Linked DNA regions of Homo sapiens: regions 1, 2, 3, 4, 5 and 6 are each linked to region 7. Evidence: promoter capture Hi-C in 16 types of primary human blood cells and fetal thymus (Javierre and others, 2016). All regions are on one chromosome and are shown on one strand. Each heading gives the region's core, a stretch centred on a gene start or on the middle of the fragment in contact. The rest is flanking DNA. Distances are from core to core; before and after follow the strand shown. Region 1 overlaps PCNX1 (pecanex 1). Region 2 overlaps TTC9-DT (TTC9 divergent transcript). Region 3 overlaps PCNX1 (pecanex 1). Region 4 overlaps MED6 (mediator complex subunit 6). Region 5 overlaps PCNX1 (pecanex 1). Region 6 overlaps PCNX1 (pecanex 1). Region 7 holds the start of MAP3K9 (mitogen-activated protein kinase kinase kinase 9).

Evidence for each region. Contacts are between HindIII fragments. The CHiCAGO score rates a contact against its expected background, and 5 or more counts as called.
Region 1: a fragment that was not itself captured here is called in contact with the fragment with the promoter of MAP3K9 in region 7 in 1 of 17 cell types (naive CD8 T cells); the score reaches 5.2 in naive CD8 T cells.
Region 2: a contact is called between a fragment that was not itself captured here and the fragment with the promoter of MAP3K9 in region 7, in 1 of 17 cell types (naive CD4 T cells). The highest score is 5.8, in naive CD4 T cells.
Region 3: a contact is called between a fragment that was not itself captured here and the fragment with the promoter of MAP3K9 in region 7, in 6 of 17 cell types (activated CD4 T cells, non-activated CD4 T cells, total CD8 T cells and 3 more). The highest score is 8.1, in activated CD4 T cells.
Region 4: a contact is called between a fragment that was not itself captured here and the fragment with the promoter of MAP3K9 in region 7, in 1 of 17 cell types (naive CD4 T cells). The highest score is 6.0, in naive CD4 T cells.
Region 5: a fragment that was not itself captured here is called in contact with the fragment with the promoter of MAP3K9 in region 7 in 6 of 17 cell types (activated CD4 T cells, naive CD8 T cells, total CD4 T cells and 3 more); the score reaches 7.1 in activated CD4 T cells.
Region 6: a fragment that was not itself captured here is called in contact with the fragment with the promoter of MAP3K9 in region 7 in 3 of 17 cell types (total CD8 T cells, non-activated CD4 T cells and naive CD4 T cells); the score reaches 8.7 in total CD8 T cells.

The regions. Positions count from the first base shown.
Region 1 is chr14:71,045,835-71,049,142 of GRCh38, reverse strand. PCNX1 (pecanex 1) reads right to left here. Exons shown (of 36, transcript NM_014982.3): 21 at 2,038-2,179; 22 at 1,159-1,336. Among named protein-coding and RNA genes, the nearest start is that of PCNX1, 140 kb to the right of the region's middle. The HindIII fragment of the contact is 214 bases long and covers 1,217-1,430 here.
Region 2 is chr14:70,626,287-70,629,782 of GRCh38, reverse strand. The region is part of intron 2 of TTC9-DT (TTC9 divergent transcript); the gene reads left to right. Among named protein-coding and RNA genes, the nearest start is that of TTC9-DT, 13 kb to the left of the region's middle. The HindIII fragment of the contact is 3,070 bases long and covers 88-3,157 here.
Region 3 is chr14:70,951,465-70,954,964 of GRCh38, reverse strand. The region is part of intron 2 of PCNX1 (pecanex 1); the gene reads right to left. All of the region lies in intron 1 of LOC105370557 (a long non-coding RNA gene), which reads left to right. Among named protein-coding and RNA genes, the nearest start is that of PCNX1, 46 kb to the right of the region's middle. The HindIII fragment of the contact is 952 bases long and covers 1,632-2,583 here.
Region 4 is chr14:70,582,688-70,586,097 of GRCh38, reverse strand. It overlaps MED6 (mediator complex subunit 6), which reads left to right. Exons shown (of 8, transcript NM_005466.4): 7 at 315-342; 8 at 1,155-2,877. The coding sequence ends at 1,285. Among named protein-coding and RNA genes, the nearest start is that of MED6, 16 kb to the left of the region's middle. The HindIII fragment of the contact is 2,143 bases long and covers 212-2,354 here.
Region 5 is chr14:70,979,259-70,982,396 of GRCh38, reverse strand. The region is part of intron 6 of PCNX1 (pecanex 1); the gene reads right to left. Among named protein-coding and RNA genes, the nearest start is that of PCNX1, 73 kb to the right of the region's middle. The HindIII fragment of the contact is 3,810 bases long and covers 1-3,138 here.
Region 6 is chr14:71,004,996-71,008,563 of GRCh38, reverse strand. All of the region lies in intron 8 of PCNX1 (pecanex 1), which reads right to left. Among named protein-coding and RNA genes, the nearest start is that of PCNX1, 99 kb to the right of the region's middle. The HindIII fragment of the contact is 215 bases long and covers 1,375-1,589 here.
Region 7 is chr14:70,807,613-70,811,142 of GRCh38, reverse strand. It overlaps MAP3K9 (mitogen-activated protein kinase kinase kinase 9), which reads left to right and starts at 1,630. Exons shown (of 12, transcript NM_001284230.2): 1 at 1,630-2,377. The coding sequence starts at 1,972. MAP3K9-DT (MAP3K9 divergent transcript) reads right to left here and starts at 2,359. Exons shown (of 2, transcript NR_184164.1): 1 at 1,856-2,359. RefSeq lists a silencer at 1,429-2,068 and an enhancer at 3,009-3,068. The HindIII fragment of the contact is 10,628 bases long and covers 1-3,530 here.

The sequences.
Region 1 (3,308 bases), core at 74-2,573, 240 kb before region 7:
ATATTTTACTGCAACTTTCACTTTTTTCCAACCAGTATAAGATGAAATACAATTTTCAATCTAAATATTTGAGTTTGTGGGAAACCACATGCTTCTTTATACAATTCTCTGATTAATTTTCTGGCTTCCTCCTTTGGTTAATAACCATACTCACTAGAAGAGGAAATAAATGATAAAAATACAAATTAGTGACTGAACAGATATAATATTGAAATATTTTAGAAGCTATTTATCACAATACTGAAATTGACTATCAATGAAACTTTGCTCAAATTAACGGCTTTCCATTTTTACTGTTCCCCATCCTAGATCAGACTACTATCACATCTGAATTACTGTCATTATCGCTTAAGCTGTTCTCTGTACCTTTAGGTTCTCTCTTCCCCAAATGAAGCCAAATGTGGCTGACCAGGCTAACTTCCCTAAAACTGGAATTTCATTGTGTTTTGTAGCTGTTCATTTGCTTCAGCTCTCTGTTACCTATCAAATGGGATAATGTATGTCAAAGTCCTTTGTATGTGGTCAGTGTTAACATGAAATTGAATTACTATTTCACTGACAAATAATCTGACTGTACAGCCTATTTCACTGAGAAAGGTAGTGTGATTCAGCAAAAAGATTCTTGGGTTAGGAGGCAGAGGACCAAGGTTTTACCATCTTATTTGTAAAAGGCCTAGAACATCTATCTTATGGGTGGATAATGAATTTTAGCAGAAGCCTATAAAGTTCAGAGTATTCTGCAAATATCACATCAAGCTAATTTCTGACTGCTCCCACCTAGCCTCAGTCTCCTCAGCCTCTACCTGCTTCATTGGGCTATGCCAGAGCCCAATTCAATTATTACCACTTCTGTTTCTAAAATTATTCAAAACTATATACCTTTTGAGAGATTCTATATATTTTAAAATATACTTATTAATGTTTCTCTAATTGTTTTATGTAACTTTATCTTCTTAGCTATAGCAAGAAATATATCTTTTATAAATCACAGTGACTATCTTTGTTTAGGGATTCTAATGTGCTCCTAAATAACTGGTTGAAGAGAGTTATTACTTAAACAATAATAAATCACATGAAATATAAGAAAAATTCTGACTAGCATATAACCCAGGGAGATAGTTTTTATAGATAAGGATATTCCTTTCAGTGATAAATTACCTTGTTGAAGAGTATGGACATAAAGAAGAGATCCAACAGCATGGTCTCTGAAAAAGCTTCATAGTCAAATTTGAAAAACAGCACAGTAAAGATGACTGTAACATACTGATATGTAGGGCTGCTAAAAGAGGATCGTAGCAACTTCAAACCAGCAACAGTGATCATTAAAGCACCTAATCTGTGGCACAAAGAAAACACAAATCAACTCATGACTGAAAACATTAGAAGAGACAGTAACTTAAAATAAAATTCACCATTTACTTTACTAAGCTTATAATATATACATTAAATGTAAGCTTCCAAAAATGATGTATAGAGCTAGGTAAATCACATCCTGAAAGTATCTGACTATTCCCTTTTAATACTATTCATTATGATTCTTATCCTTTATATGAAGGACTATGTTTTAAAAATAATAGTATTGTAATTCTGACATCTGATTCTCTAGTTTCTCAATATTTCTATTACTTTAACACCAACTGCATTTAGCAAATGAAAAACATATTAATGCTTGACTCAACAATAGGTACCTACTCTATTGGGCAGGCTCATCGGATGACTATGGAGGCAACTGACCATCTATATGGTGTAAGTTACATAGTGCATCAAAATAGCCACATAATATTAAAAATTAACCTTATTTTAAAATGTCCTCTCATAAAATATCAATTGACAATGAGATGTCTGGAGTACAGAATATGCCAACAGCAGAAACAAATGTTTAAAAAAGGTAAGTCAAGGACAAAATGTCACCTAAATTTTTAATCTCACAGTGCCTTGCATGAAGGAAACAATTATTTAATATTTGATCAACAACTTAAGACATTGTTTATAACAGCCCCCAGTAGTCAGACAATATTAGAAGACTACTATACTTACTCTGTATTCAGTTTCTTTGGACTAGCAATTGTCTCTGCACTGCTGCTCAGTTCATTGAGAACAATCAATGGATAGATTATATTCTTCTCCACAAAAAGAAGCCACACATGAAGTTTCTCAAACCACATCATAGTGGCTGCATCTAACAAGGCAGTATAAATCAAGACTACATGTCATCAAATGTATAGTTTGTCAATGTGATGAGAAAGAAAAATTTTACAACAAATTTAGTACCAAACTACAAATAAACTGTTTTTAAAAAGCCAGTACTTTAATCAACTGTCAACTTCTATGAGCTCTGAGATACTTACAAATTTGCAACTTAGACATGATTTAACATTTAGATGAGTTTCCAACTTTAATTCTTGAAACCTCAGTTTTTAACCATAACTTTTCTCATTTATGCTTATAACTTATTGAAAAAAGATTACTGAAGATCATTAGATTGCTCTTTCCACCCAAAATAAATAAAAATATGGTATGATTTGAATTCACATACTTAAGAGCAGCTTTCATTGCCAATAATATTTTTTTCCAATGCTACAATATTATTTCATTGGGGAAAGTGTCTAGGATAAACTAAAAGATTTAAAACATGGTTCTTTGGCTATCTGAAAATAGCATCACCTGGCTTTAGGAAGTTCTCTAAGAAATAATATTTTTTCTTTCAGTTGCTAAAATCAGTACCAGAAAAAAAAACAACTTTGCTGTTAGTACTATAAATGTCAAAATGATATGCTGATTCAAAATTTGTAGACTACATGTTCTAAGATTTAAAAAATAAGATCAATAATTTATTTTAATGAAAAGTGTTGGTCTTTAAAACAAACTAGGTATGTGTCATCATTTATATATGAAAGCAGTAATAGTTCACCATTAAAAACATATCTCATTCTGAGTTATTTTCCTGATGGTATAAATGGGCCAATAAAGATTCTTATGCAGCTTCATGTCATTTTTATTTATTAGGAAGCTTTCAAAGGCTTCAGAGTTCTCTAAAAAAGTTATCTTCAAGCAACTGAATGATTTACTCTACAGTAATTAGCTAACTGAAAAAAAAAGTGTGAGAAAAAAGTTGGCTTATTTAATCATTGGTATATAATAAATTATGACACAGGTATGAACATTTATTATTTCTCTAAAATGAGGAAGTACAATATATTACAGATAATGGGGCCAATGAACAAGAACTGAATACTTATAACAGGAAAGAAATGTCAGGGTTTACAGTGGTAAGGAAAAAGCTTGGCAAGTGAACTAGCCTCTTTTCC
Region 2 (3,496 bases), core at 373-2,872, 180 kb after region 7:
TTCTAGACTTTCATGATGTTCTCTCTGTTGGGGGTTTCTTCCTCAGCACTAACAATCCTTTCCATAGAGTACCATATTTAATAAGCTTTAAAGGTCCTTATGACCCCCTTATCTAGAGGCGAAATTAGCAACATTGTGTGTGTGGGCAAGTAGGCCACTTTAACACCTGTAGTGTTGAACTCATAGGGTTCTGAGTGGCCAGGGGCAATGTCCAATATCAAAAGAACCTTAAAAGGCAGTCCATTACTGGCAAGGTGCTTTCTGACTTCAGGGACAAAGCATCAGTGGACCCAATCCAGAAAAAGGGTTCTCATTATCCAGGCCTTCTTATCAGCCAAAAGATTGGCAGCTGGTGTTATCTTTTCCTTTCAAGGCTCAGGGGTTAGCAGGTTTATAGGTAAGGGCAGTCATGATTATAAACCCATCTGCATCTCCATAAAACAGTAGAGTTAGCCTATCCCTTCCTGCCTTAAATTATTGTGCTCACTTCCCTTCCTTACTAATAAATGTCCTTTGTGGCATTTAATTTTTAAATAGGGCACTTTTATCTGCGTTAAAAACCTGTTCAGGCAGATATCCTTTCTCCTCAATGATTTTCTTTCTTTCTGGGTTTTTTTTTTGTTTTTTTGCTTTTTTTGTTTTTTTTTTTGAGACAGAGTCTCAGTCTGTCACCCAGGCTGGAGTGCAGTGGCACGATCTCGGCTCACTGCAAGCTCAGCCTCCCGGGTTCCCACCATTCTCCTGCCTCAGCCTCCCAAGTAGCTGGGACTACAGGCACCTGCCACCACGCCCGGCTAGTTTTTTTTTGTATTTTTAGTAGAGATGGGGTTTCACTTTGTTAGCCAGGATGGTCTCCATCTCCTGACCTTGTGATCTGCCTGCCTCGGCCTCGCAAAGTGCTGGGATTACAGGTTTGAGCCACCGCGCCTGGCCAGTATGAGTGCCACATTCATAATGACATAAGTTCATCTAGTACTTTGTGGCTTATCAAGCATTTTAGCCTCATTTAGATCCTTACAATACTACCTCAGTGTGTAAGGCGAGGCAGTTTTTTATTTGTTTGTTTTTGTTTTTTTTCAAAATGGAGTTTCACTCTGTCTTTCGAGATGGAGTGCAGTGGCGCCATCTCGGCTCACTGCAACCTTTGCCTCTTGGGTTCTCCTGCCTCAGCCTCCCAAGTAGCTGGGATTACAGGCGTGTGCCTCCATGCCCAGCTAATTTTTGTATTTTTAGTAGAGATGGGGTTTCACCATGTTGGCCAGGTTGGTCTCAAACTCCTGACCTTGTGATCCACCCACCTTGGCCTCCCAAAGTGCTGGGATTACAGGTATGAACCACTGCACCCAGCCCTGAATAATATTTTATTGTATGTAATACTTTTGCTTATCTGTTCATCTGTTGATGGATATTTGGATTGCTTTCCCCTTTTGGCTATTGTAAATAGTACTGTTGTGAACATGGGGGTACAAATAGCTCTTCAAGACCTTGCTTTCAGTTGTTTTGGATTTATACCCAGAAGCTGGAGTGTTGGATCATATGATAACTTTATTTTTAATTTGGTGAGGAAAATCCATACTGTTTACCATAGTAGTTGCACCATTTTACAATCCACCAACAGTGCACAAGTGTTGCAATTTCGCCACATCCTTATCAGCATTCATTATTTTCTAAGGTTTTTTTTGTTTGTTTTTTGGCTAGTAGCTAAATATTACTGGGTGCTCAGTAATATCTCACTGTGGTTTTGATTTGCATTTCTCAGATAAACAGTGATGTTGAACGTCTTTTCATATGCTTGCTGGTCATTTTTATATCATCTTTAGAGAAATATCTATCCAAGTCCTTTGCCTATTTTTAGTTGAGTTATTTGATTTTTTGTTGTTGAGCTGTAGGAGCTCTTTATATATTCTGGCTATTAAGCCCTAATTAGATAATGATTTGCAAATATTTTATCTCATTTTATAGATGTCCTTTTCACTATGTTGATTCTGACTTTTGATACACAAAAGTTAAGTTTGATGTAATCCCAATTGTCTATTTTTGCTTTAGTTATCTGTGCTTTGGGGGTCATATTTCAGAAATCATTGCCAAGACTAATGTTAAGAGATTTTTCCCTATGTTTTCTTCTAAGAGTTTTATAGTTTTAAATCTCATGTTCAAATCTTTAATCTATTTTGAGTTAATTTTTGTATATAGTGTGAGACAGGTTTCCAACTTCATTCTTTTGCATGTGGATATCCAGTTTTCCCATCACCATTTGTTGAAGACTGTCATTCCCCCATTGAGTGGTTTTGTCATTCTTGTCAAAGATCATTTGACCGTATACATGACAGTTTATTTCTAGGCTCCATATTCTATTTCATTGTTTTGTCTGTCTTTATGCCAATAGCACACTGTTTTGATTACTGTTGCTTTATAATATGTTTGGAAATCAGAAAGTTTGAGTTTTCCAAATTTGTTCTTTTTCAATTTTTTTTTTGTTGTTGTTATTTGAGGTCTCTTGAAATTCCATATGAATTTTAGGATGGATTTTTCCATTTCTACAAAAAATGCCATTAGGATTTGATAGCCTTTGCATTGAAACTGTACATTGCTTTGGATAGTAGGAACATCTAAATAATATTAAGCCTTCCAACCATGAACAAGAAATGCCTTTCTATTTATTTCTATCTTCTTTACTCTTTTCAGCAATGTTTTATAGTTTTTAGTGTACAAGTCTTTCACCTTCTTAGTTCATTTTATTCCTAATTTTTTTTGTTTTTGATGTTATTATAAATGGAATTGTTTTCTTAATTTCCTTTTCGAATTTGTTTGTTGTTAGTGTATAGAAATGCGACTGACTTTTGTGTGTTAATTTTGTATCCTGCAATGTTGCTAAATTTATTGATTAGTTCTAATAGATTTTCTCTCTCTCTCTCTCTCTCTCTGTCTCTCTCTCTCTCTCTCTCTGTGTGTGTGTGTGTGTGTAGTCCTTAGGGCTTTCTATGTATAAAATTATGTCATCTGTGAACAGAGGTAATTTTACTTCTCCCTTTCTAATTTTGATAACTTTTATTTCTTTTTCTTACCTAATTGCTTTGGCTAGGATTGCCAATCTATGTTGAATAGAAATGGAGAGAGTAGAAATCCTTGTCTTGTTCCTCATCTAAGAGGAAAAGCTTTCAGTATTTCACCACTGAGTATGATTTAGCGGTGAGCTTTTCATAAATGACCTTTGTTTTGTTGAGGCAGTTTCCTTCTATTCTTAGTTTGTTGAGTTTTTTTTTAATCATGAAAGTATGTTGAATTTTGTCAAATGCTTTTTCTGCATTGAGATGATCATGTGTTTTTCCCCTTTCCTTCTGTTAAGTGGTGTATTACATGGGTTGATTTTTATATGTTGAAGTATTCTTACATTTCAGAAATAAATCCCACTGGGCTATGGTGTGTAATTTTTTTTAACATCTGACTGAATTCAGTTTGCTAGTATTCTCTCGAGGATTTTTGCATTAATATTCCT
Region 3 (3,500 bases), core at 858-3,357, 140 kb before region 7:
TTATTTTCCTATTCATTTCTTTTCCTCAGAACAGAACATGAGATTCACAAGTGTGAGGGTGAGGAAAGGAGATGTCAAAAACAAAAACCTACAACAAAGATCTTACTTACTAGTGAAACTTAAAAATATTAAAGATTAGAAAAAAGACAAGGATGTACACCAATAATACTTCAATTTAACCATGTGCTACATATCATAGCCAGTGAAAAAAATTAAACAAGAAGTATAAGGACTAGAAAGTAAGAAATAATTGTGATCATATAGACAAGGGAACATCATTAATAAGGGGGTTTAATAAGATTGCTAGACACAAAATAAACTGCGACATTTTAGGGGGAAAAACAAAATTATACTAGCATAAATACTATAAAATCATAAATTTCCTTTTAATGGAGAAAATGAAAAACTATTACTGAAAGGTATTTAAAAAGACTAAATAAATGGAGAGATTCAATATTGTAAAGATGCAAATTCTCAGCAGAGGGACCTACAAATTTAGTGTAGCTCCAATAAAAATACCAAGTTCCTATAGACTTTCTCTAGCAGACTCTGAAGTTTACATCAAAAATCAAAGAGCCAAGAATAGCGAAGTCTCTCCTAAAAAAGAATATGGTAGGAGGTTTAACCCACTGGCTATCAAGAGTCATGTTTTAAAGCTGATAAGGATGGTATGGTAATGGCACAGGCAAGCAGATCAACAGAACAGAACAGAACAGAACAGAGAGCCCAGAAACAAGCCACCAGAAATGAAAATTTAGCTTATGCCATAGAGACTGCTGCAAATTACTAAGGAAAAGATAGTCCACTTAACAAATACTGGGTAAATCAGAGATTCATAAAGAAAAAAATAAGCCTTAAGAACCTACCTGATACTACAGACTTAAATAGCTTTGGGTAGAATTGAAATGTGAAAACAAAAGAAACATGAAACTTCAAAAAGACAATACAGAATACCTTTCTGATCTCCGTGTAGAAAATAATTCAGACACAAAAATGCTAGCCAGGCGCGTGGATCACGCCTGTAATCCCAGCACTTTGGGAGGCTGAGGCGGGTGGATCACCTGAGGTCAGGAGTTTGAGACCAGCCTGGCCAACATGGTGAGACCCCAACTCTACTAAAAATACAAAATTAGCCAGGTGTGGTGGCACATGCCTGTAATCCCAGCTACTGAGGAGGGAAGGCAAAAGACTAGCTTGAATCCAGGAGGCAGAGGTTGCAGTGAGCTGAGACTGTGCCACTGCACTCCAGCTTGGGCGACAAAAGTGAAACTCCAATTCATTAAAAAAAAAAAAAAAAAAAGAAAGAAAAAAACACAAAAAACAAAAAACCTGATTACTAAAAAGTGGTAAATTTCATTGTTCTAAATTTAAGAGTATATGATAATCATAAGAAACTTTAAGGAAAGCAAAATGACAAGCCACAAGTGGGAGATGACTGTAATATATACATAACTAATAAAGGAATAGCATGAATATATAAAAAAATAAAAAATTCCTATTAATCATTAAGAAAAAGACAGCTCCAAAGAAAAATGAAACAAAACATAAATGAGCATTGGAAAAAAGAAAAAACCTAAATGGACCATATATAAAAAAATAAAATGTTTAACCTCAGTAGTAATCAGAAAGCTTAACTGAAAGTCACAATGAGACACCTTTTACATTTCATGAATGGCAAATTTTTTCAAGACAGGGTCTTGCTCTGCCACCCAGGCTGGAGTGCAGTGGTGTGATCAAAGCCCACTGAACTCTTGAACTCCTGGTCTCAAGTGATCCTCCTGCCTCAGCCTCCCAAGTATCTGGCACTACAGGTGCACACCACCATACCTAGCTAAAATTTTTTTTTATTTTTTATTTTTTGTAAAGACAAGGTCTCACTATGTTGCCCAAACTGATCTGGAACTCCTGGCTTCAAGCTGTCCTCCCATCTCTCCCTCCCAAAGTGCTGGGATTACAGGCAGGAGCCACCTTGCCCAGCCAATTTTCTTCTTTTAAATCCCAAATCAATAGCTAAGTGAATGGAAAATTTTTAAGGTTTACCAATATCAAATGTTGATGAAGATGTGAACAATAAGGACTTTCATACACTACCGGTGAGAGTATAAACTGGTAAAATCATTTTGGCACACAGCTTGGAATTGCCTGATAAAATTGAACATGAAAATGCCCTATAAACCAGCTTACATAAACTAGATATACACATGTACCACAAGACAAAAAACACTAGAAATAATCTGAATGGCTATAAATAGAAGAATGAATAAATAGACTATGGTCTATTCTTACAGTGGCAGACTACATGTAGGTCAATATGAATAAACTCTAGCTACAAACATCACCATGCGTGAGTCAATAAAGTATAATATACTGTGCAAAAAAAAAATCTCTCATAGAGAAATGCATACTGTATGATTCTCTTAGGATGTCCTAAAGCAGACAAAAATAAATAAATATATTCAGGAATATCTACGAAGAGTGTGTAACAATAAAGAAAAGCAAGGGAGTTATTCACAAAAAATTCAAGATTATGGTTACTCCTGAAGGGAAAAGTGGAATGAAATGGGAGAGGAATGTCATGAAGCTTATATGGTATTTTTATAATGTTTTATTTCTTAAGCTGTGTGGTAGGTAATGAAGTAGTCACTTGATTATTGCTAACTTAGTGTTTGGAATACATATTTCACAATAAAAAATTTTTAAAGTAAAAGAAAATGGAAAAAACAATTCAGAAGCAATGACAAATATATATAATATCCAGAAATAATTAGAACAATTATCAAGTGTTACCATGTGTCAGGAATTATTCTAAGAACTCTCTATATATTATTTCATTTATTCATTGTAATAATCCTATGAGAGAGTTCCATTATTTTCCTCATCATTCTGACAAGAAAGCCAACTCAAAAGCTTAAGTAGCTTCTCCAATGTCTTACAATTAAGAAGCCTTGACTGACTGAGTGTGAAGTCTACATTCTGTCCACTTATCCACAATGTACGAATATGCATTTCTTAACAGAAATAGAATAGGCGTAGGAAATGTACAGAAACCATTTAAAAAATGTGAAAGGTTATAAGACATAAAAGATAAGTGAATAAAGAGATGATAAATAAAAACATAAGAAAATAAATGGAAATCTCTCATCTATATCCCTATTTTAAAAGTTGAGTTTCTACAATTTAATAGAATTGTCATCAAAATTCTAACGAAATTTTCTGGAGGATAAGCACACATGAAGATATCTCACAAAAGTAAGTATATGCATGAGAATAATCAAAATAATATCAAAAAAGGTCAGGTGTGGTGGCTCATACCTGTAATCCTAGCACTTCAGGAGACCGAGGCAGGCAGATTACCTGAGGTCGGGAGTCCAGCACCAGCCTGGCCAACATGATGAAACCCCGTCTCTACTAAAAATACAAAAATTAGCTGGGCGTGGTGGTGCATGCCTGTAATCCCAGCTACTTGGGAGGCTGAGGCAGGAGAACCGTTTGAACCTGGG
Region 4 (3,410 bases), core at 34-2,533, 220 kb after region 7:
TTTATAAAGCATTGTAGCCTGGGTGTGGAGGTGGAAGTCTTTGTTAAATGTTCAAGTGTTTTTATGGTTGGTTGACTATCTTGTTCTAGTTTTTGATTTGTGTCTTTTCTGGAATGGGGAATAAGAAGTAGAAAATGATAAATTTACTTTATAGTACATACATAGTAGCTTTTCTTCACAAAGTCATTTGAAATGTAATTTGGATGAAGCTTTCATTTTATTAATATGACATCAGGAAGAAGAAATTTTGCCAAGTTGACCTGTTTTCTTCTTTTTCCTCTTCCTCTCCCTCCCTTTTTTCTAAAAAATTATAGCTAAAGCCTGGAGAAAAGCCTGTTCCAGGTATGGTTCATGTAATATTCTTATTACGCTTGAAATAAGGTCAAACAGCTTGTAAATCAATCACAAGTATAGCATGTGAAATGAGCTGTGGTCATTTTGTCCTTCTAGAGCTGGGGCTGGGTCTCATTGGAAGAAGAATTGTCTTGGGTCACACATAAAATAACACTAATGATGGCTGATGAGCTGAAAAAAAAAAAAAAGTCTCATAATGTTTTAAGGAAGTTTACAGATTTGTGTTGGGCCACATTCAAAGCCATCCTGGGCCTCATGCTGCCCGTGGGCGGTGGGTTGAACAGTCTTGTTCTAGAGTCTCCCATTGTAGTTTTTTACTCTTAATCTTTGAGAGCTGCTGAACTGTCAGCAGGTGGTGCCATTGTGGTAGTGATTGTGGTAGTGAAAAGATGAATTGGGAGGGAAAAAGTAGGTATTGAGGAGGTGTGAGGAAGCCACTGTGATTCGAGGTTTCTTCATCAAATCTGTATTTTTACACAATGATGTTTTCTGTTACATTATTGAAAACAGGTATTGAACCATCATGGTACTGGGTTAGAATAATTATATATCTTGTTTTTACATACTGTCTTACTTAAATGCTATGTAGTTTTGTCTAGTATCATTAATTTCCTTGAGTTTTCAGGTTGTTAGGTTTGTAACTGGGTTCTTGTATACATCTGCCTGGGGAAACAGCTAGATCTAGAACTTGAGATAAGCAGTTAAAAATGAATTTGAAAATGTGAGCCATTCATATTAACCATTTATCTCATTCCCCCCACCCATATCTCCCTCCCAAAAAATCTACTTTTGATATCTAGTGGATCAAACAAAGAAAGAGGCAGAACCTATACCAGAAACTGTAAAACCTGAGGAGAAGGAGACCACAAAGAATGTACAACAGACAGTGAGTGCTAAAGGCCCCCCTGAAAAACGGATGAGACTTCAGTGAGTACTGGACAAAAGAGAAGCCTGGAAGACTCCTCATGCTAGTTATCATACCTCAGTACTGTGGCTCTTGAGCTTTGAAGTACTTTATTGTAACCTTCTTATTTGTATGGAATGCGCTTATTTTTTGAAAGGATATTAGGCCGGATGTGGTGGCTCACGCCTGTAATCCCAGCACTTTGGGAGGCCATGGCGGGTGGATCACTTGAGGTCAGAAGTTCAAGACCAGCCTGACCAATATGGTGAAACCCCGTCTCTACTAAAAATACAAAAATTAGCCGGGCGTGGTGGCGGGCGCCCATAGTCCCAGCTACTCGGGAGGCTGAGACAGGAGACTTGCTTGAACCCGGGAGGTGGAGGTTGCCCTGAGCTGATTATCATGCTGTTGCACTCCAGCTTGGGCGACAGAGCGAGACTTTGTCTCAAAAAAGAAGAAAAGATATTATTCCCATCATGATTTCTTGTGAATATTTGTTATATGTCTTCTGTAACCTTTCCTCTCCCGGACTTGAGCAACCTACACACTCACATGTTTACTGGTAGATATGTTTAAAAGCAAAATAAAGGTATTTGTATATATTGCTTCATCATGACTTTTTTCTTCATCATAACTGATATTTTTCAGATGCACTTTGAAGACATAAAGGATGTTAAAGTAGTAACTAAGCATATTTCTTTTTGTTCAGTTACATAATCCTCAGTATTAAAATAAACAGTTGCTGACATTTTGGAAGATGAAGAAAAGGAAAAACCTCACTCACCAATACCATTACCCTATAAATACTGTAACAGTGTTGTGAATTTTAATCTTATTCTGTGTGTAGATACTTCTTTTTTCAATAAAGAAAAGGAATTTTATTTTTTTTAAAGTTATGGAGGCTGAGAAGTCCAGCATTGATTGGCTCCATCTGGTGAGGGCCTTCTTGCTGGTAGGAAGTCTGCAAAGTCCCTAGGCAGCACAGGGTATCTCATGGCAAGGGGGCTGAGTGTGCTTGCTGCATGTAGATGCTTTTAAAACTGTACTTTAATCATTCCTTTCGTACAATTTTACTTTATTATATCTGTTGTAAGCTTTTCCCCATGTTTATGTAGTTTTTATAGACTGTTTTAGTGTCCGAATTTCTGTAAATGATTGTATCTCAGTTTTCTTTCTGTCTTATATTTGGGATTTTTCCCAGTTTACATTATTTTATATAAGACTGCTGTGATTATATCTTTGTATAATGCCTTTTCAGTGTTTGGTATTTATTTCCTTAGGATAGAGTTCCAGAAGTGGAATCACTAGAGTCTCTGCATTTTTATTGCTCTTAGTCCATATTGCTAAGTTGTTCCTCAAAATGTTGGACTAGTGATCACTCAAACAGCGAAGTTTGAAAGTATGTATCAGGTTTTCCAGAATTGCTACCACTGAATTTTGTCATTTATGTTTTTAGTGTTAAGTAGCAAAAGTGGTATTTTAGTATTTAAAGTAGTTGAAGAATTTCTCATCTTTTTCTGCTTTTATGAAATGTCTAATTTTATGTATTGTGTGAGATTTTTGTCTTTCAACTTCTTATTTTGACATAATTTCCGGCAAACAGAAAAGTTGTAAGAATAGTACAAAGAATTCCTATATATACCTTTTACCCTACTTCTCTATCTGTTACCATTTTTCTGTATTTTAGTCTTTATTTTCTTTCTCTCTTTCTTCTGTCTCTGACTCTTGCTCTCCTGTCGCTGTTTCTCTCTTTCTCTCTCTCTCTTTCGATGTTATTTGTGTTTCACCAGTGGTGCCAATAATGTCATTTACAACAGAAGAAAATCCTGAGTTATGGGCCACATTTAGTTGTCCTGTCTTTTCAGTCTCCTGTAACCTGGAATAGTTCTTTAATCTTGCTTGTTTTTCATAACCTTGATATTTGTAGTTGAAGCCATGCATTTTGTGGAATGTCTCTCAATTTGGGTCTGTTTGATATATTCTCATGATGAAATTCACCTCATGCATTTTTGTGAGGAATGCCATAGAAAAGATGCTTACGGAGGCACATGCTGTCAGTTTGCTCCGTTTCTGGTGATGTTAACATTAATCACTTGGTTAAGTTAGTGTCTATAAGGTTACTCCACTGTAAAGTTATTTTTCCTTTTATAAG
Region 5 (3,138 bases), core at 472-2,971, 170 kb before region 7:
TACAGTTATTACAGCTTCTCTTTTAGGGTTAGCTGTGTATTTCTTCTGCTGTCATTACTTCAGCTTCTATAAGTACCCATCCCTTCTACTAATTTACTGCTTCTAACTTTCCATGTGAACTGGGAAATCAGAAAATTAAGTTTATTAGACTTGAGAGTCCTTCTATTTAGTAAAGTACAAAAGCTACAATTTGCATTTTATTGTCTGTTTACTGGTCTTTATCTTCTGTCTAATGCTCAATGATATCTGGGTACAAAATAACACACCTTCAATTTATGTGTATAGCACAAACCCTCATAAATTTTTATTGAAAAGATCTGACTTTTCTTTAAATAATTGTTTCTTTGAAGATTATTTTTGGTTCCCAACACAATATTATATTAGGATCCTATTTCATGCTTACAGAATAGTGACTCAAACATTATATTTAAAATAAATTTCACAGAGAAATAGAAGTTAAACAATTCAGAAAAAAAGCACAAAGAATAGTAAGTAAACACAAACCTCTCCACTCGGGCTATTCTTTGTAATCCATTAAGTGACACAGAAAATATGCTATAACAACAGTATTGAATCACACAGGAAATAAGTTTAAACGGTCCAAAAGAAAACGACTTCCTTAAAAGTAATACAGGCTAGAAAACACAGGACATTTTTCTACCATATAGCTTCTATGTAGTTTTCATTTCTTAAAATATTAGTCATAAAGATATGCCTTATAATTTAAAAAGAAAAATTAAGTACAAAACAAGAGATCAACAGAAAATGACTTAGTTTGAACTTAAAACATATTTCCTGTCTCAGTAATCACAAACCATTATTGATGAAATTCAGTTTTAACCAAAGAACTTGACTAATGACAGGACGTATGAAAACAATCACTTGTTACGTGACTAAAAAAGATGTTATATGACATATTACTGCCAAAATAAGGTCCATGTCACTAAATTGATGTTAATAAAAATGTTTTTCCTATTGGCATTATGTAAGAAACTAGGGAATCAGAATTTTTTATTTTTACTATTGAGTTTCACAATGGCACACTTAGACTATCTCTAGTTTATTTCTACATTTAATCACTTTCTTCTACTTTAATTTTATACCACTGAATTAGTAAGGTTAAACGACAGGCTACACTGTGCAGCATAACTAACTGGCCTTGAACAGTCACAGCAGCACTAGTAAGCATTTACTGTGTGCCAGGAACTTAACTCCTTAGTCCTCACAACAACCCTATGAGATAGATACTATAATCATCTCATTTTAAGATGAGGAAGCTGAGGTTTGTAAGTAGCTTTCCTAGAGTCACAACAGTGGAGCCCACATACTAACAAAGGTATCTGACTCCATGTCACTAAACTAGATTACCTCCTATTTTAGCATACTTTATTTTAGTACTTTAAAGTCTATTTCCTAAATTCCATCTCTCTACACTACCACCACCACCTACCTTAAAATAAAATGAAAAGAAATCGTTGGAGAACTTATCGACACCTTCATATTCTTTAGGATAAAATCTACCTATGGTTTATGCATAGGTATATGAATGGCCAAGCAGTAACATGATGGTTGACAGGTTTCAGTAGTACAGTATGTAAGGAAGGATAGCCCAGAAACATTTCTTCTAAATTGTCAGACAGGACTGTAACAGATAATGTTAACATAAACAAGTATCTTTAAACAGTATTTGAGAGTCTCTGTAATTTTTAAATAATAAGAACCAAAACAAATCCCCTTCTACCACCTCCAACCTTTCAAAAAGCCCAAGTAAACTCCCAACAAAACCCCTATATTTAGTTATGATAAAAACCAATTAAAAAACCCCCAACACATTTAAGTGCTTTAGTTTTGCTCTTATTTGTATTCTAAACCCAATGAAGCTCAAATTAAAAAAGCCTGTGCAATGCCTGCCCCAGGCAAAAAAATGTTTTTAAACAGCCCACAGACTATTACATTTCTTCCACCAAAGCAGATATTTTTATTTCATTATCTCTTATTAACATTTAATTGAGTTATTTAAATTAAAAAAAAGCAGTACAAACAAAAGAAAACAAAAGCTAGAGCCTAGAAAAACAAGGGCTAATATAGCTTAAAGAACAGCACCGAGAAGCAAATAACACCTTTCAGGTAACTTTTCCTAAAAAACAGAACACCTCACAGTCCCCATGAAAAGGAAATGACATTTTAAATATAAACGCATGAATTTACTACATATTTTTGTACACATTTTTTCAGTATTTACATTTCCACAATATTCAGAACAGCAATATTTTTCTATCATAGCATGTTGACTTAAAATTCATTTTGATAACTTTAAAAATTAAGCTATATTTTAAAATCCAATGGTTTCTTGCATACTGTGAACATATCTGATATGATTTGTGTGAGAAATCACTACAAGCATTTCAGGTTGTTTACAAAAAAAAAAAAAAAGAGAGAACTATATCCAGGTCAAAGACTCGAGGGAATTTAATTACTCTACTGTCACCAAATGGTTATAACCACTTCAGATATAATTAGTTCTCAATATTTAGGTTTGATAAACTATATTCTTCTTTAGGTACTAGAAAATTTCTTTACGTTCCCATTAGAAATTAATCTGGCTAGAAACTTGACCCCCAAAAAAATCTAAGAAAATGTTTACCACAATATGGACTTTTAAAATACTTCGGGTGAAATTAACATCTTTGAGAAAAAGCATATATTCATATGTTTCATAATGTTTGTACAAACAAAATCCAGCTTAACTTTTAATAAATGACTGAACATTACTGTATCAAACAGACTATAACTTTAAAACTAATGATACAAGCATAAATAAAGGGAATAGGGGTAGAGGCTAAAAATGCTAAGGTACTAACAACAAAAGACCTGATTTTTCTGATTCTATTCAAGAAGCAGATTCCATAAAAACCAGAACCAAATAAACAAACTATCTTGGGCAGAAGAACACAGCAAGAAATAACTCTGAAATAAAGAGGCCAACACACACTGACAGAATATAAAATCACCTATCCAAATTTGCACAATTCTCCAAAAACCTGAAATAAATAAGCTATTACTTTAACCAGAACACCATCACTGTTATTATGGGGGCATCTTACATCAATTAATGGATACCAAATGTCAATATAAACT
Region 6 (3,568 bases), core at 233-2,732, 200 kb before region 7:
CTGCCTCAGCCTCCCGAGTAGCTGGGACTACAGGCGCCCGCCACCACGCCCGGCTAATTTTTCGTATTTTTAGTAGAGACAGGTTTTCACCGTGTTAGCCAGGATGGTCTTGATCTCCTGACCTCATGATCCACCTGCCTCAGCCTCCCAAAGTACTAGGATTACAGGCGTGAGCCACTGCGCCCGGCCAAAACAGGAATCTTAAAGGTCAATGTTGACTTGATGGTAAGGCTAAAAGTCAGATTTTCCCATGCCTACAATGCAGAGTGTGCAATAAGGGCTTTTTATTTAAGTGAAATACTTGAAAAAATGCTAATAAAAGGACTCCATAATGTACTAATATGACTAAGAGTTTACAGAACATCTCAAGCATTACTTCATTCTTTAAAACGACTAGAACCAGGAAAAAAACAACAATTTGAATTATTTAAGTACATTCTATGGATCATAAAAGTTATGCTGTTTTCTGTAGCCACATTTTTTTTTGTCGAATAATATACTCCTAAGTTAGGGAAAAAAAGGTTTTCTGTGAAATGCTCAGGTCATTTGCTGTCTTTTTTCAAGGTTATTCAGCATGTAAATTATTTAAGACACTCCCCACCCCCATCTTTTAGTCATAAGTCATTCATCCTTAGCACCTCTAATAGAAACTGGATTAATGAGCTAAAATGAAATGATACAAGCCGTCAACTTGGCTACTTCATAGATGTATCACTGAAAGTTTTTTTAAAGTGGTAGGGTGAATTACAGAAGTTGCTACCGAAAAAAAAATAAAAAATACCGGCTCACTTAAAATTAAAAAAATTTTAATTGCAGTTTTTAATGCTCTGTTCTGTATTCATTTATTGGATAATCAATGATTAGTGCTGCTATCATAATTAAACTTAGATTAAGAGAAAAAAGAAATATCTGCTCAAAATCATGGATTACATAAATGCAGAATTATTGTTAACTACATTAAATGACTAAATCATGGATTAACAAAGAGCAAAGAGGGCTTGGTTACTGCATATGAAACTCAGTAAGAACAGAATGCATAAATGTATTGTCATAACATAATTTATACATATTTTAGAAATAAGTTAATTCTGTATTCAATAGAACTTAAATTGTTGCAGTATTTCTCAGCATTCAAGCTTTCCAAAGGATTTTTATTAATATATAAGTTCTGTTCTTGGTATATTAAAAATAATATGTATCTGTGACAAAATCAACTAAAGATATTATCTTTGTAATTTTCAAATGAAACAGTAAAAGAATATGATGTCATTATACTACCATGTTGTCTTTTATGTATAAATATCTAATATTAAATTTACATAGAAATAGTTGCATTTTAAATAAATAAACATAAAGAATGCAAAAAAAAAAGCTTTTCTAAACAGACAGTTGGAAAAATTGAGTAGTTCTATTACTACCTGAATTTACAACTCTGAATGATTCTATCCAAATTACTAACAAGTAATAAAATCTAAAAATGTAAGCAGAAGCATAAATATGTCTAAAAGAGAGGCTATGATTTTAACAGAAGTACATGACTTCAACAGTGCTTTTCTTTTTTTCCTTAAGAGGCTTTTGTCTATTAAGCTTCAGAAGCATGTTTAGGTTCTTAAAAATACGCATGGCATTTGTCAGAACAAACTAACACTGTAATAAGGCCTCATGGTGTAGTCCCAACTTCACTCCAAAAGAACAAGTCTATGTACTTTAGAAGTACCAAATTTTACTCTGAAGATAAACACACCAGAAAAAGAAATTACTAAATGTAATTTAATGTGCTAATGTATCCTACTGAAGGCAGCTTAAAAAATAACCAACCAGAAATAAATATATATTACTATTGGTTTATGAAGATTACGTTTGTACAAGTTTTCTTGGCATACACAGCAATTTTACTATTTCTTTTGAGATTAAAACCATCATATTTAAACTTTAGATCTGAAGTAAAATATGCCGTTACAATACCCCTATTTTAATATTATTCTGCCTTAAGAAAAATACTTCAATACTAATTTTTTCTAATAAACAGAGTAGAAAGCAGAGCAAAGAAATATGTCCTTCTCACATGAATTTGGATTATAAACTAAGCCATCTCATCATGATTCAACTGTGACCAATTAATTATACCTGATAGAATGCCTCTGTCATGACTTAAGGAGAAAAAAAAATCAGTTTCTAACAAAATAAACACGATTAGAAACTGGAATTTCAGACTTGTAAAAATTATACTGGCCAAGGGACTGCATCTCTAAAGACACATACACAAAAAGCTGATATGCCAGGCGCAGTAGCTCATGCCAGTAAATCTCAGCATTTTGGGAGGCAAAGTGGGAGGACTGCTTGAGCCCAGGAGTTCAAGACAAGCCCAGGCAACATAGTGAGACCTCATCTCTACACACACACACACACACACACACACACACACACACACACACACACACACACACACACACACACACAGACACACACACGTACTAGCTGGGTGTGGTGGCATGTGCCCATGGGCCTAGCTACTTGGGAGGTTGAGGTAGGAGGATCACTTAAGCCTAGGAGGTTGCGGCTGCAGCGAACTGTGTTCATGCCACCGCCCTCCAGCCTGGGCAAGAGAGTGAGACCCTGTCTCAAAAAAAAAAAAAAAAAAAGTTAAGATACCTAGTATTTCTTAGCAGTCTTATTGAATACTCAATAGTGACTGTTATTGTTCATAAAATTTGTTAATTACACACAACCATTCTTTTGAAGTAATATTTCAAAGTAACAACTATAGGTCAATGAATAAGTGATGAGCAACAGGAAGATGAGTAAAACTGGATACTCACTTAACACCAAGGATACTTGAAGCATTTGCCTAGAGCCATGAATGGTGCAGCAGGCAAATTCTGATAAACATTCACAAGACACTGATAAAAGACATGGGAAATGAATGGGATTCTCTAACTTACCCTATCAGTAAAAATCCTCACCATACAAAACGAAGTTGAGTACATCAAGAATTTTAAGAACAGTACTCACCTAAGAAACTCCAATTGCATTCCCCACCCCCCCTTTTTTTTTTTTAGACAGAGACTCACTCTGTCACCCAGGCTGGAGTGCAATGGCACAATCATAGCTCACTGCAATCTCAAACTCCTAGGTTCCAGTGATCCTCCCACCTCAGCTTCCTGAGTAGCTGGGGCTGCAGGCACACGCCACAGTGCCTGGCTTACTTTTTAAAACTTTTTTGTAGAGATGGGGGTCTTGCTATGCTGCCCAGGCTGGTCTCGAATTCCTGGGCCTAAGTGATACCTCCTGCCTCAGCCTCCCAACGTGCTGGAATTACAGGTGTTAGCCACCACGCCCAGCCTGTTGCATTCTTGACATCACTCATTTTTCTAAAGTTACCTATATGTATCTTGGAAGGAGGTGGTTACTAGAACAACAAATCATCCATAGTGTTTTTCTAATCTTCCAAGTACCAACAACAAAAGAGGTCTCTTAAATTTCTTGGATAATTTTCTTCTTTAACCACCTACCTCCCCCAACCTTCCCTTCATTCTGTGTCCTCCAAGCCTGATGCACTGTCTACACT
Region 7 (3,530 bases), core at 381-2,880:
AGTTATCTTTCCAAATTGCCCCGCTGTCTTTAGTTTGTGTAATAATAAACCCCAAACTAAAATTCAACAAAAGCACTCACCCTTGCTAAATAAATCATGTCTATTCCTACCACTGAAGGGGAAAAGGTAACAAAGTTTGGTAGAAGTTGGGCTAGATCCTTCAGCACTGGCTTATTTAGAAATTTCAGAGGACTAGGTGAGGTGGCTAAGGCCTGTAATCCTAGCACTTTGGGAGGCCGAGGCAGGTGGATGACTTCAGCCCAGAGTTCAAGACGAGCCTGTACTTCCAGCTACTCGGGAGGGTGAGGTGGGAGGATGGCTTGAGCCTAGGATGTTGAGGCTGCAGTGAGCCGAGATTGCGCCACTGCACTCTGGCCTGGACAACAAACTGAGACCCTGGAAGAAAAGAAAAGAAAAGAAAGGAAAAGAAAAGAAAAGAAAAGAAAAGAGAAAAAAAGATCAGAGAACCTTTCTTACTGGAAGTCAACGTTGCCACGACAGGATTAAAGCAAGAAGAAACATTATGGGCCTCCTATCTCGTCCTTAATGTTCAAAACGCAGGGTATAGCAAAGCATATAGGAAGAGGTCGTCCTCACTCGTGAACTCAGCATCGGGTTCTACGTTTATTCTGCTTTGGTTCTTCTTAATCTGACCTCTATAGACTTCGCCACGATCCAAGGTGTAATTCCAACAGGCAAAAGAAGTCTAAGGATTGTCGAAAAGGTGGCTCCCTTCAGACAGACCAAGCCCAATTCATGGCAGCGTTCCCAGCCCCAGTTTGAAGCTCAGTAAGGTGGTCTCTTGCCTTTCTGAATTCTGAAAAAAGAGTGGTATTGGAATCTCTTCTTACCGGAACCCAGGAGAGGGCGAGCTGTGGTGCAGTCCTCATAAAGGGGAGAACTGTAGTTTTCAGAGTTCTAATGAACATCCCAATGGGCCTAAAAGGCTTCAATAAGAGATGAAAGGTTCCGGGTGAGAGTGGGCGTGGGCGAAGCTGATCCCTCTAGGTCGGACTAAGGCAGAGCCAGATCCAAGAGGGAGAATCCAACTGTAAAAGGGATCTGGGGAAGAAAGAGCTCTGTTGGGGGTGCAGCCGGATGAAGAACACCGGTGCTGCTCAGTGCAGCCCCTACCCATCCATGGCAAACAAAGGCAGCTGCCTCCCTTCCAGCCTTTTAGTTTGAATGAAGGCTCAGTATTACCTTTTAGGATCCACCCTTCCCTTCTCACGCACCCAATGAGGCCGGAGCCTCTTCCTGCCGGGAGGTGCTGAACTCTCCCAGGAAACGGACAGGTGCCGCGAGCCAATGGAGGGAGCTGCGGCGGGCCAGTGGGCGGGAAGAGTGGGTCGACCTGGGTTTGAGAATGACAGAGCCCGCAATGGGGGAGGGCACGGTGCGACGGCGGCGCAGGGGGTGAGAGGGACCTGCGAGACGGCCAGCTAGGCTGCCCCAACCACGGCGGAGGAACCGGGGACTGGGCGGCCGCAGCCAATGGGAAGGCAGCGGGCGCGGGGCGGGGCGGGCGTGGGGCGGAGCCCCCTGGGGTCCGCAGGGCTGGGGCGGAGCCAGGCCCGCGTCAGGTGGTCCCGGCGAGCTGGCGGTGCGGGGGGCGGGGCACGGCACGGCGCGGAGAGGAGAGCGGCGGCCGGCTGGCAGCGGCGGGCACCGGCTGCGCGAGCAGGTACCGGCGGCAGAGGTGACGAGGCCGCCCCCGGGGGGGCGAGCGGGCAGGCGGGGACTCGGCCCGCTGCGCCCCTAGGCTGCGCGAAGAGCTCGCGCTCGGCGCTCTTCTCGTACCGCGGTAACAGCGCCGGCGAGCCGGCTCTCCCAGCCCTGCCAGCCCGGGCCCTACCTGCGGCCGCCGTCGTTGGGGGGGGGTCCTCCCAGCTCTGCGGAGGCGCATGAACAATAGGCGGCGGCGGCTCCTGCGGGCGGCGGCGGCCCCGCACCCTATGGATCGGCCGCTCCATGGAGCCCTCCAGAGCGCTTCTCGGCTGCCTAGCGAGCGCCGCCGCTGCCGCCCCGCCGGGGGAGGATGGAGCAGGGGCCGGGGCCGAGGAGGAGGAGGAGGAGGAGGAGGAGGCGGCGGCGGCGGTGGGCCCCGGGGAGCTGGGCTGCGACGCGCCGCTGCCCTACTGGACGGCCGTGTTCGAGTACGAGGCGGCGGGCGAGGACGAGCTGACCCTGCGGCTGGGCGACGTGGTGGAGGTGCTGTCCAAGGACTCGCAGGTGTCCGGCGACGAGGGCTGGTGGACCGGGCAGCTGAACCAGCGGGTGGGCATCTTCCCCAGCAACTACGTGACCCCGCGCAGCGCCTTCTCCAGCCGCTGCCAGCCCGGCGGCGAGGACCCCAGTTGCTACCCGCCCATTCAGTGTAAGGCGAAGGCGGGGCCGGGCGGGGAGGGGGAATGACGGAGGCCTGGGGGGCGGTCGGGGAAGGGGGGAGCACTGCGCGAGGGCTGGGATGAGGGCGGGGGGTGGGGAGGACGATTGACCTGGGTGTGGGTGGCGCGCGCTTAGGCTGCCCGGGCTTTGCTTGCTGGATAAGCTCGAGACGCCTCAGGCCCTGCCCGCACTTCAGACGCTTGGGCTTCTTCACCTTCAGTTGGCCACCTCAGCAGTGGCTCCCGATTTCCACATCCTGAAGTCCCAGTCTGAGAATTTGCCAGTTTCCCAGTCCCTTCTCTTACCCACCCCCCCGCCGCCCCCCATTCCCAATCTGGAAGTGTTTATGGCAAGATGGTGGTTAGTGTCCTAGCCTTAGTCCCCAAATCAGGGACCTTGCCACCACCTCTTCTAACGCCTGTCCCCGCCTCCTAAAGGCATTTGCTTTCAAAGAGATGGGGGTGTCTCCGCAGGGCTGAGCTGGCTCACAAGTCCCGGAAGCATGTGTGAACTCAAGGCTCAGTTGCCTGTAAAATGTCGGGTTGATTTCTTGGATCCTATTTCTTATATCTCAGAAGTTGTACCTTTAGGAGTCTCACTGATTAATGTGCTAAGAGGGATGTGTGTGTTGAGAGTGGGGGTGAGACAAGTGATGATTAGAGAGGAAAAAGTATGTCGTTCCCCCATGGGAGATCAGGATTGCAAGGTACAGTGGCTGAATCCCAGTCCTTTGACAGTGAGGCTGTTTGGGAAATACATTTTCTTCTTTCTTCTCATTCTAGATCCTTGCCTATCTTTGGAACTGGTCAAATCTCAGGGGGACCATGCTCAGGGGTCCCTCCCAGGGCCTTTCTCCCAGTGTCCTGGTTTCCGTCAATTTTCCAGGAGCCCCATATTTCATACCCTATAATGAAATCTTCTTTTTTTTTCAAGGGAGTTAAATTGCCATCACAATCCCTTAATCATACTAGTTTATTTCAGAAAAAAACATGTAAATATCTCTTTAGTGCAGTTTACACTATTTTGTATTTGAGAGTTTCCATAATCTCTTATCTGTTAAAAAGGTATTGTTAATATGTATTAATTACTGTTTATTCCTTATTTTGTATACTTTCATCTTAGTTGATTTTTTAAAACGTCAT